Regions from separate parts of the Homo sapiens genome. Here region 1 is linked to region 2. The links are contacts of gene promoters, found by promoter capture Hi-C in blood cells and fetal thymus (Javierre and others, 2016). All regions are on one chromosome and are shown on one strand. The core of a region is centred on a gene start or on the middle of the fragment in contact, and the rest is flanking DNA. Distances in the headings are between cores, read along the strand shown. Region 1 overlaps TLR9 (toll like receptor 9). Region 2 holds the start of DNAH1 (dynein axonemal heavy chain 1).

Region 1 (3,433 bases), core at 364-2,863, 97 kb before region 2:
GATCACTTGAGGTCAGGTGTCCGAGACCAGCCTGGCCAACATGATGAGACCCCATCTCTACTAAAAATACAATAAATTAGCCAGGCGTGATGGTGCGCACTTGTAATCCCAGCTACTTGGGAGGCTGAGGCAGGAGAATCGCTTGAACCCGGGAAGCGGAGGTTGCAGTGAACCAAGATCACACCACTACACTCCAGCCTGGGTAACAGAGCGAGAGTCCGTCTTACAAAAAAAAAAAAAAAGAAAGAAAAGAAAGGAAGTTTGGCTTTTATAAGCAACTCTAGTGTGAAACTACGATGTCATGAAAGTTCTCTAAGGATATTTAGAAGCTGACGGCATTAAATAAGGTGTCCTAAAGGGAAAAGGGCAAACTGTATTTGAAATCTTAGTGAACAGACATTCCTCTCCTTGAAGTTTTCCTCTATCAGGTTGCCTGAGTCTCATGCCTGCTCCTCTACTTCCTTGTGCTGGGAAGCACTCTCTGCTCCCCAACACGAGGGGATAACACCAGGTCCATGGACTTTCCCAGGAGCCCTGGTCCTGCTCCCAGAGACAGCTACTGTCCCAGCTGCATGTGCCTCTGATGCAACCACATCTGAACCCTGTCAGTGCCCTGGGAGGCACTGGGTGGAGAGAGAAACACTGAAGCCACATCAGTTGAGGGTCCTGCGTGTAAATCCCATCACCTAATAATAACTGAGGCCCTGCTCAGTGTTTCAGACCCTTACCCATAGTGTACGAATCCCTCCAACGTCCTGCAGAGTGGCGCTGCTCATTCCCATTTATAGAGCGAGCAAGCTGAGGCTCCAGTAGGGGAGGTCACCTGCCTGAGACAATCCAAATGGCAGAACTGGCAGGCAAGCCCAGGCAATCTGGCCTGAGTCCTGTCTCTTTCCTGGCCGTGCTGATGGGCAAGGATGGCCGCCGTGTGGAGGAGAGAACCTGGAGCCATCTCTGAGTACCCTTCCTGACTACAATGCAGAGGGCGCCGCCTCCCACCCAGCCCCACCCTGGCCCAGCTCCAACCACTTCCTGCAGGACCTGAGATAGTGGTGCGCGGCTTCTCTGATCACGTAGACAGCACAGAGCCAAGTGCCACAGACCCCCAGACTCACCTGAGCCGAGCCCAACAGCCCCCTACCATGGCCCGTGTGCTTCCTCTCCAAATGCTCTCCTGAATCTCCAGCCCCAAAAGCATCAGGGCTGTGAGCGTGGGTGGGGGGTGGGGAGATGGAAGGTCCACCAGGAACTGCTGGAGGGTGGGCCTGGCAATCCCAAGACAGGCAGGTTTGCCTTGCCTCCCACATGCAAAATATGGTTCCCTGAATGGGATTCTGTTTCCAGCTTCCTGTCCCTGCCCCTGATTGTGGCCAGAATAGTCTCAGAGCCACTCAACAGTGGACTTCCCTAGACTCCAGCCAGGGGGAAAAGACTATTGTTTTCTTTTCTCTGCAGGCAGCCAAGGAAGGATGACAGGTTGGGTCAGAGCCCACGTGGGGCACAGGGCTTCCGATTGGTAGGTCAGAGACCCTCCTTCTTTCAGATGAGCAGATAACAGGGATCTACAGCCCACCACAGGAGCCCCTGTACCCAAGTCAGAAAGAGGACGGCAGCATAGACTTCCCCCACAGCCATGCCCTGGGGAGTAGGGCAAAAGCAACCCTCCAAGGGCTGCCATGATGAGCCCACCAAGTTAGCTGTCTGCTGCCAGCTCTAGCTCTCCCCTCCAGAGGCCCTGAGTGGACAAGCAGATCTCAAACTGGCCTGGACCGGCCAAACCGGGCCCCAGCTCCAACCTGTCAGCCTGCATATTTCTCCCCTGCTCCTCAAAGGGCAGTTTTGGCTGTGGTAATGGTGTAGGCTGCCAGCCCAAGAGAGGGCCCCTCAGGGGCTCCAGGCCTGACGCTCCTCATGGCTCCACACACAGTGTGGAGGAGATCCTGCTGAGGACAGACCCTGACCTCTCCAAACACTGGTCATTGGGGCTCCCAGCTCTATCCTGAAATGTACACTATCACATATAGAAGCCGGGTGCAGTGGCTCACACCTGTAATCCCAGCACTTTGGGAGGCCGAGGCAGGAGGATTGCTTGAGCCCAGGAGCTTAAGACCAGCCTGGGCAACGTGGTGAAACCTGGTCTCTACTAAAAATATAAAATTTAGCTGGGTGTGGCCTGTAGTCTCAGCTACATGGGAGGGTGAGATGGAGCACCTGGTCCCAGAAGGTTGAGGCTGCAGTGAGCTGTGATCCCACCATTGCATTGCACTCCAGCCTGGGTGACAGAGCAAGACTGTGGCAAAAAAAAAAAAAAAAAAAAAGGTCAGGCTTGGTGGCTCACGCCTATAATCCCAGCATTTTGTGGGGCTGAGGCGGGAGGATCACTTGCATCCAAGAGTCTGAGACCAGCCTAGGCAACATAGTGAGATCCTGTTTCTACAAAAAAATAAAAAATTCGCTGAGTATGGTGGTGCACCCCTGTGGTCCTAACTACTCAGGAGGCTGAGGTGGGAGGATCGCTTGAGCCCAGGAGGTCAAGGCTGCAGTGTTCATGCCACTGCACTCCAGCCTGGGTGACAGAGTGAGACCTTGTCTCAGAAAGAAAGAAGAGAGAGAGAGAGAGAGAGAGAGAGAGAAAGGAAGGAAGGAGGGAGGGAGGGAGGAAGGAGGGAGGGACGGAGGGAGGGAGGGAGAGAGGGAAGGAGGGAGGGAGGGAGGGAGGTGGCTTGCCTAGGTGTCCCTTTAATATCAGAATGGAGAGACCCAGCAAGCACCTGTAGGTGGAAAGAGAAAGGAGTGGATTCTCCTGTCTGTGGCTCCCAGCTCCCTGCTGCAGGGATGCACCCACAGGCCTTCCCCTCCCGACCCTGAACCAGCCTTCTCCGCTTGGCACAGGCATGGCCACCAGAGGGCGCAATCACCCCTCCACCTTTGCTGCAATTCATTCTACCGTTTTGGAATGAACAGTCCCCATAGCTGCTGCCACTCAAGACTTTGCTGAGCGCCAGAAAGGAACCAAGCCTGCAGCTTCTCTGCCCTCAAGGCATTCCAGTCCAGTAGGCGAGGGAGACAGACAACCTGAGACCCATACACAACAAAGGGGTGCTGCCAAGTCTGTCAGGTGCTGCCCGGTTCTGCATGGGAAAGGTAGGGCAGGGCATTCTGGGAGGGGCTAAAAGAGGCCCCTACTCTCTGGGAAGGACCAAGACCACATCCAGTGACCATCATCAGACTCCCCAGAGAACAGAGCTTAGCAGCTTCCTCCCCTGCAGACCTCTGTCCCGTCTTTATGGCAATTTTCCCTAAGCTGCTTCGTGGAGGCCTGGAGAATTCTCCCTTCCCTCCTCCTGTCCATGCCTCCAGTGAGCTCAGAGTTAGCCATCTAGCCTTCGGTAGCATTTATTGAGTGCCTGCTCTGTGTCAGGTGTGGGGTGAG
Region 2 (3,523 bases), core at 1,019-3,518:
CTCAGCTAAGCCTCAGCAAACCCAGGCTCCCTGGAAGGTGGGAGTGGGGGCACTTGGTGGGTCACAGGGCCAAGTTGATGAAGTCACCCACTCTGCCAAGATATTACTCCAGCTGACGCTCACCAAACTCCTTGGGACTGAGGAAAAATCAGAGGTGCTCAGAGCCTAATTATAATAAACAGTTTCCTGTGCAGCTCCTGGAGCCCCCCTGGGAAATGTCCTGTGGAAGATGTCTTTGTCTCAGAGCCTGCCATCTGGCGCTTTGGCCCAGGAAGGTGGGGACCAACAGGCATCCCCCCCTTGGGCCGCTGCTCCTGGAGCGCAGAGCCTCAGCATCCTGCACCCTCAGATGGAGGTCAGAGAAAAATAGGCTGGGGGAGAGGAGGTGAGGGTGGGATCATGTGGGGTCATGTGCAACTGGGCTGGTGTCAACAGCCACTATCTTTGAGGTGATGGCCCCGATGTGGGTTGCTCTATCTTCCAGTCATTTCTATGGGTCTTTCCTGGACTGACGCATGGGCAGGGCTGCTGAGAAAAGCTGTGCCTCTGCCCCAGCACCCCCTGACCCCATCCATCAAGTCCACCCTCCAGTTGGGAGAAACAGCAGTGACCATCACATGGTAGGGAGTGAGTCATCTACCAAGTGGTACTGACCATGGTCCTCTGGGGCCCTGAGGAGAGTGTGTGTTCTGTTGGCCAAGGCACTCAGGGAGTGTGTCCTGAGAAGTAGCCCAAGATGGCATGGAAGATCATAGAAAAACAAAGAGGGAAGAGGCTCCGGCAGGGAGGCTGCACAGGAGTAAAGGTGGGCAGGGGATTAGGTGGGGGCTGTGATGGATGAAGATTGTCTGTTCATGGGCCAGTGGTCTTCAGTCCACCAGCCCCGGAGAAACTCTGTTCTACTCCTTGCTTGAGCTCTGGGCTTTCAAGGTCTTGTCTGTCAAGGTGATCATGTGGATCAAAGGAGAATTAAATTTTCTCCATTTTTATTCATCAAAGAAATGATTATGCTGGTCAGAACTGCTGAGGGCAGCTGAGCAATGGCAGGGAGGCTTATGTCGGGGAGGCCTGGGGAGGCAGTGAATCGTAGACCTCACCCATTCCCTTCTCTGACACCCCCCGCCCCCGATGCCTGCAACTCACTTTCTTGTGGCATAGCTCAGAGCTCCAGGCCTAGAAAATCAGAGGAAGATCCTGGGGGCCCAAGAGGGAGGCTGGGGACAGGTGGGGAGCGGGTAGCTCAGCCACTCAGTCTGGATGCCTGTCACCTTCCGTTCTGGCTGGCCAGCCACATGAAGGGCCCATTCTGCTGCCCATTCACAAGGGGCTTTCATCTCTGCAGCCAGTGAAGCATTGCTCCCATCTCAGCCAGCAAGGAGACACAGGGGAGGGGGTGTGCAGACTTGCCATGACCTCAGACTCCATGCTGGAAAGGCATGGCCCTGGGCCAGGGCATCCTAAGCAGCCCATCTGCCCCAATCCCCCAGCTTCCAGGCCACCAGAGTCCTCAGCAAGGGGGATCTGAGTAAGAGATGGGCAGTGACTCCCCAACTCTTGTAGAAACCTAGTCCTCCCATTTCAACAAGGGTAAGGCTGACCTCTCTTCCAGCTTATTCAGGGCAAAAGATGGCCCTCCCATCACAAGAGGGGCAGGAGTCCAGTGGGTCATGGCTCAGCCCCCTGCTCCTTTCCCAGGGAGCAAGGTAAGTATGGTGGCCTTCAGGACAGGGCAGGAAGACCAAAGCCTGAACCCTTGCGCAGCCATGGGAGAAGACAGCACATTAGAGGGTAGCCCCTGAGACCCAGGAGAACAGGGACTGACTCACGGTGTCCTTCCAGGGAGGAGGGAGGCAGTCATATCCACAGCCCGCCCTTGAAGAGGGGCGAAGTGGAGCTGGCAGGGCTGCTGGTAAAAGCAGCACCCCCGACCCCCACCCCTCAAGTCCATTCTCCAGTTGGGAGAAACAGCAGTGACCATCACATGGTAAGCAGTGAGTGGTTCTGTGAGCTGGGCCTCCTGAGAGTGGACCCTTTCAGCTGTGGCCTGTCCATCTGTCCAGCAGCCACAGCCCCTGTGATGTCACCAGCCCACTGTGTTGCTTGGCAACTTTCCAGGATTAGCATTCTGCCCCTCTCATCCCTGACATCCCACCATAGGCTGATGTTGCCATGGCAACCCGGATAGATGCTGCAGCTTTTTGGACAGCTGTACCTAGTGTGGGAAGTGCCAGGCAAAAGCAGGGAAGCAGGTGCCTCTCTACAGGCCAAGGGGGGTACCCAACCTATACGCAGACCCATTGAGCAGCCAGACTGCCCTAAACAGGGCTATGGAGTCCTTGTCCCTTCTAAGAGCTGTGGACACCTTGCCTCCAGTTCCCCTCACAGTCCTTTCTTCCTTCTGCAGTGATCACTGAGTACCTGTGTGAATGCCAACAAGAAAAATAAAACCACAGTTTGGATTCAGGAAAGGTTGCACCACCATCAGGTCTTGAAGGGTGAGTAGGAGTCCGCCAGATGCAGGAGTGGATGGAGACAGGTTCTAGACAGAGGAAGCAGAAGCCTGTGCAAGGGCTGAACCACTGTCTCCAGGCATAGATTACACCCTGCCTCTAGGTTCCTCATGGCCTGGCCTCTCCATCTTTCCCACTCAATACACTTTATGGTGGGGATAGGGTCCAGTTCAGTTCCAGACACTTAGTGCCCAGCAACAGGCCTGGCACCAAGCCAGCACGACTAAAATGCCAAGTAAAATTCAACATCAGGGCCTATGACCTCCCCTAGTACTAACCGTCTCAGCAAGTCTGTTTCCCCATCTGTGAAATGGGGCCAGTTTTGAGAAGGCTGTGGGCAGGGGTTCTCAGGTACAGATGGGGTGATGTTTTTCTTTTGGTTCTTTTGGTTTGTAAACCACTTCTTTCCCTTACAGAAAAAATTGGAAGACTAGTACATGGACATCTGTGACCTTCAGATTCCCTAATTGTTATATTGCAGCACTTTTGCTTTATCTCCTCTTTGTCTTTTTATCTAGCTATGCTTACCTATATGTATAATTTTTGCTGAACCATTTGAAAGGAAATTGTAGCGGACATTCTGACGTGTTTCTTCAAACACTTCAGGCCACGTCAACTAAGGACAGTCTGATACAACCACAGTAGCATTATCACATCTAAGAAAATTAACAATAATTCAATATTCAGAATAGGGCAGGAAGATCAAAACCTGAACCCATGCCAGGTGCTGAGAGCAGATGAGGGGCATCAGAGGGTGGGCGCCCGAGCCGAGGGGTGTCGGGCGCATCCGCTGCCCAGCGGAAGCGGCGGCCTGAGTGGAGTCACCGTGCAATGGGTGGGTGTGGCTTTGTGAGCCAAGCCCCAGGAGAACCAGAACCCACCTTTTCCTCAGTGCCCTGACCAGCTGTCCCGCAGCTGTGGCTTAAATGCCAACTTCCAGTTCGTAAATTTCTTCAATTATTCCTCCCCAAATTATTTACATATGTATATGTATTTAAATCAGGATTTAATCA

Evidence for each region. Contacts are between HindIII fragments. The CHiCAGO score rates a contact against its expected background, and 5 or more counts as called.
Region 1: a fragment that was not itself captured here is called in contact with the fragment with the promoter of DNAH1 in region 2 in 1 of 17 cell types (naive CD4 T cells); the score reaches 5.1 in naive CD4 T cells.

The regions. Positions count from the first base shown.
Region 1 is chr3:52,217,700-52,221,132 of GRCh38, forward strand. TLR9 (toll like receptor 9) reads right to left here. Exons shown (of 2, transcript NM_017442.4): 2 at 3,381-3,433. Among named protein-coding and RNA genes, the nearest start is that of TLR9, 6.2 kb to the right of the region's middle. The HindIII fragment of the contact is 7,973 bases long and covers 1-3,433 here.
Region 2 is chr3:52,314,051-52,317,573 of GRCh38, forward strand. DNAH1 (dynein axonemal heavy chain 1) reads left to right here and starts at 2,269. Exons shown (of 78, transcript NM_015512.5): 1 at 2,269-2,495. RefSeq lists an enhancer at 2,783-3,523. The HindIII fragment of the contact is 17,475 bases long and covers 1-3,523 here.